2 separate regions of the Homo sapiens genome follow, and region 2 is linked to region 1. Evidence: promoter capture Hi-C in 16 types of primary human blood cells and fetal thymus (Javierre and others, 2016). All regions are on one chromosome and are shown on one strand. Each heading gives the region's core, a stretch centred on a gene start or on the middle of the fragment in contact. The rest is flanking DNA. Distances are from core to core; before and after follow the strand shown.

Region 1 (5,007 bases), core at 1,911-4,410:
AGCAGGGCCTTGTCTGGCAGGTCCACAGCTGCGTCCCTGCCTCCTCAGTGCCTGGTATGCAGGAGGTGCCCAACTAATGTTTGTCAATCAACTCTGATTGAAAGAGACCTAGACAAGACAGGTCACTGAAGCCTCACTCCAGCTGCACCAAAAACAAACAAAAAACCCCAAACCTTCCACATGTCTTTGGGCAAGTGGCCCCTCTTTGGGCCCCAATTTCCCCGTCTGAAAAATGGCGTTCCCTGGCTGCCGGGCTGGCTCGCAGGATAGGCTGGTTGAATTAGCATGAGTCGAGTTGATGGGTGTGAACGCTGCTTTGTAAACTGTTAAAGCGTGATTGCAAATTCGAGTAGCTGTTGTCATTAGACAAATGAAGCTTAAACCGCCTCCTCCTCTGCTGAGGAGGGGATTGGGTCAGATGCTCCCTGGGGCCTCCTGCCCTGGCAGTGTACAGTATAGTTTTGCATCCAGGCACTGCCCTCATGGAGCTCACAGTCGGCTGGAGTTGTAGAGATAACGTGCAAATCAGAAACAATCCATCAGAGAAACCAGCAATGGACCATGTGGGGCTGATTATCTTTCAGGGAACAGATAATAGGCAAATAGGTCAGTCAGAGAGGGGTGAGGCGAATGTCAATTAAGCTCTTGGTGGGGGCTGGGGTGAGGCTGAATCCAAGTCTTTAGAGCCAAGAAGGCAACCAGGTGGAGTGCACAGCTGGGACAAAAGCACAGCTAAAGGCGGTTGCCAAGAAATCAGGGAGGAGAGCCTGGCCAGACTGCAGAACCCAGCCACCCCAAATGGGGAATAAAATACTGTTTAGAGAGAAGAGGATGTGAGAGAAGGGGAACTTAATTATGATCAGTAATTTTCTATTTTTGCCAGGTAAAGGCCCTGGATAGATGTCTATTTCATCAGATAACGTTGGGTGAGTCACTTTCCTTTTTAGGCCTCAGTTTCCTTATCTGTGAAATAGCCTGTGGGAAGAGCCCTGAGCTCTGTGCTTCTGTGAAAGGTACAAGGAGGTCAGCACTGGGGTCGGACGGACATGGGGTTGAATCCTAGCCCAATTTGCCATGTGACTTTGGACAAATTACTTATCTGGTCCTCAGTTTCATCATGTGAAAAGATCAGCACCTGGTGCACAGAGTAGGAAAGATTAAGGGGGACAAGAAATAAACAAAGCCCAGCCTAGTGCCTGGTACCATGTCCTCAATAAAGCAGAGTCACTGGTCTTCCTATTTTGAGACAAAAAGGAAGTAACCACTGGCCCTGGGTAGGTGGAGTCAAGGGTCCCAGGAAATAGAAACAAAGCAAAAAAGCTGAATCTGCACAGTACATAATAGGTGCTCAATAATGACTTCTTGAATTTGGAAGTGTCTAGCACCTGGATGCACTGGAGGGGGCCAGAGCTTAGAGCTGCTCTGTCCAGGAGAGGGAGGATTGCCTCAAGATGGGCCAAGCTTGGGGTCCCTCAAACCCTGGGTCTCCTGGAAGGTCTGACAGGCAAGAACTGAAAATAAAGGCTAGCCCCACCCCAGTGGATCTTGACCCTGGTGAGGGGTCTGTAGACTTAAAAGGGGGAATCTTCGTTTCTCCTCTCTCCCTGCTCACTCAAATAGGAACGGTAGTGGCTCTGCCAGCCCCACCCCACTGGCTCTTGACCCTGGTGAGGGGTCTGTAGGCTTAATAGGGGGAAATCTCCTGTTTCTCTTCTCTCCCTGCTCACTCCTGTTCTGTCTCCCTCCCAGGCTGCCTCCTCCTGGTGGCCTTCCAGGATGACACCCATTTCAACTGGACTCTTGGAGCTTCAAGAGACGACCCAACTTTCCAAACCTTAGATGGATTCCCAAAGCCTGTGGTACCCCATTTTCTTGGTATGGACTGAAGGGGAGGGATTGCTGGGACATTTTGATAGTATGTGGGACAAAGGGACACAGGAGATGTGGGTAGCATAGACTTAAACTGCCTTCGACTTAAACCACCTGCTCCTGCACTGGGCTCCTCCACTCACTCCACAGAGTTCCGAGCTCCTGATGAAGTCTCCTCAGTCAGGAGTGGGCTCCCAACTGCCAGGGGTTCAGCCTGGGTGATTGCCGCAGGCCCCCTGCAGCCGCCCACCATCCAGACTTCAGTAAAGTCTGTTAATGATGATGGTGATGAAGGCTGTCAGAGCAGGGCAGGGCCCACAGGGTTGGGGCTAGGGTTGTGTTCTCCCTGAAGGGACGGCCATGCACAAAACCACGGCTGCACAGACAGGTCCATTCCACAGCGTGGGGGTGGCTGGGGCTTTCCCCAGATTCACCCATGGACTTCCTTCACCCCATCCCCAAACTGCACTGGGAGCAAGATCAACAGAGAAGGAGAAATCTAATACAGACATAGACGAGTCTGCAGTGAGGGGCTCGCGGGCCAGCTCAGAACAACGGGGCAGGGAGGGGAGGCCTGGGGTCTGCCTGCAAGGGCCCAGCCCACCAGTGCCGAGTGACCACCCTCCCCCCAGCCCCACCCCAGGCCCTCGGGTAGCGCCAAGGCCCAGTCTCCCACTCGGAGGCCCCGGCCCAGCCCCGGTGCCTGGGAAAGCCGCCTGTTTTGTTCCCAGATGCCACCCCCCCACACACACCCTTTTTTTTTTTTTTCCATTCATTGCAGTTCGGTCCCTTTCGAAGCCGCAGGGACCCGGGTGGCAGGGCTGAGGCGAGGGGGTGGGACTCCCTGCCCTGACAGGTAGTGCCGGCCCCCGCTTTGGGAAGCCCCTTCCCCCGCCCTCCCCTCCGTCCGCTCTCCCTGCCCCTGTCAGCCGCGCCAGACGCTCTCCGGCTTTGCAGCATTCAATAAAAATTGAGAAACATTTGGGCTGAAATCGCTGCTTTATCTGGAGGAGCCACAGCGCCGGGAGAGACCACTGCTGCGCGGGGGGAGCCCGGGGTCTCAGTGGCCCGGGCACGCGGGGTCGCCGCGCTCCAGCGCCCGCGCTGCCCCCGGGTGACCCTACGGGCGCGGTGTGGGGACCCGGGCTCGCGGCGGCGCGCGGCCGCCGGGGGCCGGGACGCGCGCGGGGGGCGGTGGCCTGGCGAGGCTCCCCCCGCGCCCGCGGCTCAGGTGGGCCGTGCCCAGCGCTGGCGGAGCCCGGGTCCCCGTTCTGCCCGGGCTGGATGGCTCATTCTGCTGGCTGCGCGGTGGCGGCGGCTGTGTGTGCGCCGCGCCTTGCCGCCCCCCCTGGCCCCCCGAGCCCGGGGCGCGCGCTCCCGCCCGGGCCGTCCGGGCCCCGCGGCGCCGCGGCCCGAGGCCCCGGGAAGCGCAGCCATGGCTCTGCGGAGGCTGGGGGCCGCGCTGCTGCTGCTGCCGCTGCTCGCCGCCGTGGAAGGTGAGCGAGCGGGCGGGCGGGCGGGCGATGGGGGCGGGGAGCGGCCGGGCACGGGCGGCCGCCGGCGCCCACCTCCGCTCCGCGGCCCGCAAAGTTTGCCCGGGGGCCGGCGCCGGGCGCAGGTGGCCGCGGGGAGGTGTGTCCGGCCGCGCCGGGAGGAGCGGGCCCCGCGGGCGCCCGGGGAGCGGCGGGCGCTGATTGACTGTGCCAGGAGGAGGCGAAGGGACCATCTTGCCGAGGCTTTGTAGCCAGCCCGGCGAGCGCCGCCCAGGGCTGGGGGCTGCCCACGCGCGCTCGCCGCCCCCGGCTCGGGCAGCCGCCTCGCGCCGGCCTGGTCTTGCTCCGCACAGGGTGGAGGGGCGCGGGCCCGGCCGTGGCGGGGGGCGGGGGGGGCGCCGGCGCTCGGTCGGGGCTGGAAAGTTTGGCAGGGAGCAGAGGGAGGGAGGCACCGCGGCCGGCCGGGGTGGGGGCTCCCGGCCCGCGCCCCCGAGATGGGGCCCGGCGCCCCGGAGAGCAGGGACTGGCAGAGTGGAAGGGAGCGCGCCAGCCCCCGCGTCGGTGCCTGCCCATCGCCCGCGGCGTACAATGGGGTCCCCTCCCCGAGAGGACTGCGCGGGGGATGGGTCTGTGGGCATCTCTCCGCCGCGCAAGGTCTCCGGGCACCCCCGCCGGCCACCGCCCCGCGGCCGCGGCGCTCAGCGTGGCGGCTGGAGCCCCGGGAACTCTCCAGCTGCCGCCGGGGCCGGACCAGATGCTCTTGCCATGTGTTGGCCTTGGCCAGGGTCGCGGGCCCTCTCCCCGTGGCCTCGTGTATTGGTACCACTCGACCCCCAGGGGGGCAAGGGTAGTTGCTAGGTCTCCCGAGCCAGCTTGCTCTGGAGGGAAAGTTAGTGCGGTCTGGGTGTGTCCACCAGGAATGGCCGAGCTTGCAGGGCAAGAAGCGAACGTGAATAATGGTTCTCACGTGTACTGCACTTTACAGTTTTCAAACCACTTTACAGTTTATGAAGTACTTCGCACTATACGCAGCTCTCTGTGGTTTACAACGTGCTGCACAGTTGACAAGGTACTTTAAGCTTTACAAAGTGCTTTCCCGCCCACCAGCGTGTTGGATCCCTCAAAATACACCTTCCGGGGAAGACAGGTAGGTATGATTCCTACTTCTCTTGAACAGATAGGGAAACCGAGGTTCTGAAAAGTCCGATGTCTCACCCAGGGCCGTTGGGTGACAAAAATAGAACCCAGGTCTGTGGTCTTTCTTTGAAACCAGCACTCACTTAGCTGGGTTTTGTTGCCCCTAAACTGCGTGAGCCCTTCCAGGGTTCTGCTCCCTTGGGCTTAGGGATGATGTCTGTGTGCACCTCTCAGGCCACTTTAGGGTTGTGGGGCGCCCCTTCCCTTCTTGCAGCCTAAGAAAAAACGCATATCAGACCAGACGTGGGGGCTGCGGCCTCTGGGAAAGGCGTCGTGGGGGACCCTGTGCTACAACTTCAGTTTCTCTTTCGGTAATGAGCACTTTAGTGACCGCAGTCAGGGGGTGGGGGGTGTCCCTGGATGGCAGCCACAGTTTCTGGCACTGAGGCAGCTGTCCTTCGGCTCCTGGGGGATTTGGCGGCTGACTGCGGTTTCCCGGAGTGGGGCC
Region 2 (5,256 bases), core at 885-3,384, 110 kb after region 1:
GGCTCACGCCTGTAATCCCAGCACTTTGGGAGGCTGAGGCAGGAGGATCACTTGAGCCCAGGAGTTTGAGACCAGCCTGGGCAACATAGTGAGACCCCATCTCTACACAAAATACAAAAAAATTAGCCGGGTGTGGTGGTGTGTGCCTATGGTCCCAACTACTCAGGAGGCTGAGGTGGGAGGATCACTTGAGCCCAGGAGGTTGAGGCTGCAGTGAGTCATGATTGCACCACTGCACTCCATGCACTCCAGCCGGGGTGACAGAGTGAGAGCTTGTCTCAAAAAAAAGAAAAAAAATTAGCAACTATTATTTACTGAGCCCTTAATTATGAAACACAGACTATGCCAATGGGTTTACATAAATGTTTTATTTTCTCCTTGGAACTACACCAAGAAGTATTTGTTATTATAACCATTTCACAGATAGAGAAACCAAGACTTAGAGGTTAAGTGACTTGCATAAGATCGCTCAGATTATTGGTGCTAGTAGAACTAGGACTCAAACTAAGTATGTTTGAATCCACGGCATGCACTTTTAACCATTTGCATCAGTTTGGATTATGAGTAACAGAAAATAAAAATAATGGTGGCTTAAACAAGATTGGAGTTTATTCTTCCCTCAAGTAAATGAAATCCAGAAGTAGGCAGCTGGTACAGCTCCATAATCGTGAAGGACTCAGGTTCCTGTCTTGGTCCCAAGATCTAAGCTGGCTGCTAACCCTCCAACCATCGCATCCACATTCCAGCCAGGAGGAAAGAGGAAGCGGTAAAGATAGACACGCATGCTTCTTTTAAGGACAATTCCCAGAAATTGCAGCTACCATTTCTGCTAACATCTCATCAGCCAGAACGAAATCACATGACTATACTACCCAGATGCAAGACAGTCAGGAAGCATAAGCTTGATTCTGGAATGCCATGTGCCCAGCTAAAAAGTAGAGCCTATTGTTAAGGAATAAGGAGAGGTCAGATATTGGGACAATCATCAGTGACTTCCATCAGCATTATTCTAATGCTGATGTTTAGATGGAAATTTACAGTGCAGTCTAGTAAGTCATCAAATCCAGCTTTCTGGTATCCCAGAAAAGGAACCTGAAGCCCAAAGAGAGGAAGGCACTCACCCAGAATTGAACAAAAAATGGGGGCAGAATCATGTTCGGAAGCCTGTCTCAGTAATCACAAAACCTGAGTTATTGGCACAAGAAATGCCCTCTGTCCCTCCTACATTCTGGGACATTTCTTCTGGTTCTTGGATTGTTCCTCTCACTTTCCCATTTTCCTCTCTCCCTTGTCTGGGCCTTAGGGTAGTTGCCCTTTGGGGCTTCTGTTAACCTTTGGATTGAGTAACAGAGGATCTGATTCTGTTCCCAACATGGATACAAAAGATGTCTGACCTTGGCCTTTAGCATTCTGGTCTGAGGATCTTAAAGGTCTTTCCTGCTCGGACAGTCAGTTTACGAGATACTCTGAAGCTAGGGGTGGTTTTTGCTTAGTGAATGTGGTTACTGGTACCAATAGATCCATATATTCCTCAGCATATGAGGCTCCGGTGGTGGTACTTGTGGAAGGGGCAATGGATAAGGGAGAAAAAAAACTAAGGTCCTTGGATGATGCTGGGAGGAAAGAATAATCTTTATTAGACATCTACTATGTACCAATTACAGTGCTACAATAAATGTAAGTAAGTATCTCCTTATTGCTAGACAATGGCTCTTAGATAGGGTTAAAAAATAGAGTAAGTCCAGCTATGTGATCTTTTGAAAGGACACATCTAAAGCAAAATGGAGAAGGGTCAAAGGTGAAGGGATGAGCCGGGCTCAGTGGCTTATACCTGTAATCCCAACACTTTGGGAGGCCAAGGCAGGAGGATCACTTGAGGCCAGGAGTTTGAGACCAGCCTGGGCAACATGGCGAAACCCCATCTCTATTTTTTAATTTAAAAAAAAAAGGAAAGTGATGGAAAAGACCTACCAAACAATGCTAAAAATAAATTTAAAATGAAGATGAGAAAAGAAAACAAAAGTGGCAATGTTAATATAATGCATATTTCACAGTTGAGGCTCAGAATGATAAAGTAACTCACCTGAAGTCATCTAGCCCCTAACTGGCAGAGGTGTGATTTGAAGCCAGGTCTTTCTGTCTCTTAAATTCCTTCTTCCTTGGGAATGTCTGGTTGCCTCCAGTGAAGTTGGCCAGCATTGTGACCTTGCCCTGATGGGATACGGGTCTGGAGCCACCATCACAGAGCAGGCTGGAGCAGGCAAAAGTGAAAGGAAGGCCCTGTTGGCCAAAGGGACCAGTCCTGGGTCAGGACATGCACTGGCATCTGGGCCAGAGCCTGGACCAACTCTCAGAGAGCCAGCCATGTGCTGCTATGGCCTGCCGTCCAGTTTCAGGCCCAGTGCCCACAGGGGTCTCCACTCCCTGCCTTCCAATCCCTAGTCTCAGGCAGAGGCTGAGATGATAGAGGACCCGTCCCACAGAGCCACATGGCTAAGGTTCATGCCTGGAATGTAGTTCCCTCTGCGTGGCAGAGAACAGCAGGCCTGAGGCCTCCAGGAGACAGTTTGGCTGTGGTTCGGCTGAGCCCTAAGCTAGGAGCCACTGAGACCTACATATACCCTATCCATTCCCAGAGCAAGGGCAACAGTGGGGCCAGAGGCAGGTCCTCATTGTTTCTTAGGAAGAGCCAGACAGGAGACCTGGGTCCAAGTTAGCTCTGCCACATCCCCTGCACACATCAGGCTCCAGTCATCCCAGATGGACCCACCACGGCTCCCAAAAAGCACCCTCAACTGCCTCGCTCCTCTAAGTTTTGCACACGAAACACAACGTGCAAATGGCGGTTAGCTGGCCTATGTAGCTAACCTGGCCCATCCTTCATAACTCAACTTGGGTATCACCTCCTCCAGGAAGCCTTCGCTGACTCCTCTTCAAGTCTGTATTATAATGTATAGAACACTGGGTTTGGCTTTCTCTTTACTTGTGTGTCTCTTCAGCCAGTGCCCTGTATCTTGAACTAATGTGTGGATGGCCTTTAAGGAGGTTTGTGAACCTCCTTTGTGAAATTGTTCACAAAATGCTTCCTGTGTGTATATATGTGCATTTGAGTGGGCAGCAGTAATAACTTTCATCAGATTGTTTTGAGAATTACCACTCTAGACTGTGATGCTCATACAGTTAGGAACTGTGTCTGTCACTGTCTCCTCAAGTGATATATAATAATAGAAGTAGGTGATATAATAAATATTAATTAAATGAACATTGGATGAATAATTTGCGGGGTGACCTTAGGCAAGTAACTTCACCTCTTTCAATCTTGATTTTCTCATCTATAAAATGGGAACAAAAGTGAGGATTCCACTATCTAAGCTTTTCCTCATCTCTGTTTTCCTTCTCTACCCCAGCACCTAGCATAGTGCCTGGCACATAGTAGGTGTTCATAGATATGTATGAGAGGAATGGAAAGATGAGCGATTGGTAGGCAGGTGGAAGAATCAGTGTTTAGATGAATGAATGACAGTGAGCGAGTGAGTGGCTGCTATCCACTATGTGGAGAGAAGACCCAGTGGATGTGTTGGTAGGTTCACTGGCTGGACAGGTAAAACAGTGCCTAGGAAGATAGGTTGATGGATGGGTGGAGAGAGTGAGTGGACATATTCATGCTAAATAAATGGCTAGATGAATGGCTCAGCAAAGGGAAACTTAAGTATTTGGGAGGGGCTGGATAGGTAGGTAGGTTTTTTATAAAATCATCAGTGGATGGGAGAAAATGATGAATACATGGATCATAGATGGATTTGTGAATGCATGTGTAGATATATGATTGGATAGATGGATGGAAGGAAGGAAGGTCTAACTGATGGATGGGGGAAGGAAGGGAGGGAGGGAAGAAGGAAGGAAGGAAAGAAAGAAAGAAGGAAAGAAAGAAGAAAAGAAGAAGAAAGGCCTCCATCCAACTCAGGCCAGTGAGTAGGAAGGCAGAGACAGAGAGTTTCCTGTGAACAAGGCTGGCTTACAGAGCAGGTAAGCCACCTTCCAGAGCTGTTGTGTATTGGGCCCCAGCTGCGCTCTTCCTTTCCATGGGTCCAGGGTCTCTCTGGCGGTGCCAATATTCAGAAACTGGTATAGGATGGAGACAAAGGGAGTAGGCAGATACCAGGGCCAGAAGGAGGGAGGGAAGACGGGTGGAGGCTGGGCCTGCCATTGGGCAGCCGCCCCTGTTTACTCAGCTCCAGAATGAAGCCCCGGAGAAGGGCTGTTCATATTTCTACCTTGAACAGGGAGCTGACATTAATGAACAGCTAATTAACATCTTGGAGTGCGATGGTTCCAGTGTCAGTGTCCCTAATTAGTCTCGCGCTAATCTGCTTTAATTAACTGTCCCTGTCGTGGTTTTAATTTAATTTTCAGCTCCAGCCTGGGATGGCAGCCCCGTGAGCATTCCGTCCCAGGGCACCTGTGGCCAGGGCAGGGTGGGTTGGCCAGTGCCAGGTTCCCAGGGGCATTGCCAGACAGCCCAGCGATGGGCAGAGCTGGTAACAGAGCCTGGCTCCTCTGCAGCCCTGCGGGAAGGGGACTTGGGGATGGGACACTTTCCTCATCTTCTCAAGGAAGTATTCTCAAGTCATCAGGAGCTCCTAGAACATTCATAGGTCAGGAGCATAGTCTGTGACTGCACCTTGATCTCAAGAAGACCCCGTAAACTGACCATACTTTCTGGACATAAGCTCCGATTCAGGTAAACCTGGATTCCTGTGTGACCTTAGGAAAAGCACTTGACCTCTCTGAGCCATTCTAGGTTATCAGCCCCATTCGTTAGTTATACAGTTGGATAGATGGTCAGAAGGAAGGAAGATCTAATCCATGGATGGGGCTAATGAGATGGGGCTGATAACCTAGATGCTGGCATCCCGCTTTCACCAAAGATGCAGTTTTTCAGGGGTGATCTGCATACACACCTAACTCCTCGGATGATCCAGTTGGAACACACACTATGACAGCCACCCTTGGGTCAAGAGTGGAGAGGGCTGGGAAGGAGCCTAGATCAGGGGGTGAGCGGAGCACTGGTCCAGGACTCAGGATACCCAGGTCTCAGGCCTAGCTTTGCTGCTACCTTCAAGTCTCTCACCCTCTCTGGGCTTACACCTCACTCCCATCCATAAGTTGGAAGGGGCAGGAAGAGGGAGAACAAGATGCTCTCTGAACCCCCTCATGCGTTGGCCAGAGTTAGAGAATAGATGTACAGCTGGCTCA

What was found. The method cuts DNA at HindIII sites, captures the fragments that hold promoters and counts their contacts. A CHiCAGO score of 5 or more calls a contact.
Region 2: a fragment that was not itself captured here is called in contact with the fragment with the promoter of EPHB2 in region 1 in 3 of 17 cell types (endothelial precursors, M0 macrophages and M1 macrophages); the score reaches 8.3 in endothelial precursors.

What each region holds. Positions count from the first base shown.
Region 1 is chr1:22,707,679-22,712,685 of GRCh38, forward strand. It overlaps EPHB2 (EPH receptor B2), which reads left to right and starts at 3,161. Exons shown (of 16, transcript NM_017449.5): 1 at 3,161-3,365. The coding sequence starts at 3,305. RefSeq lists a silencer at 1,848-2,133 and an enhancer at 4,355-4,454. The HindIII fragment of the contact is 2,980 bases long and covers 1,460-4,439 here.
Region 2 is chr1:22,820,392-22,825,647 of GRCh38, forward strand. All of the region lies in intron 3 of EPHB2 (EPH receptor B2), which reads left to right. Among named protein-coding and RNA genes, the nearest start is that of MIR4253, 40 kb to the right of the region's middle. The HindIII fragment of the contact is 2,471 bases long and covers 900-3,370 here.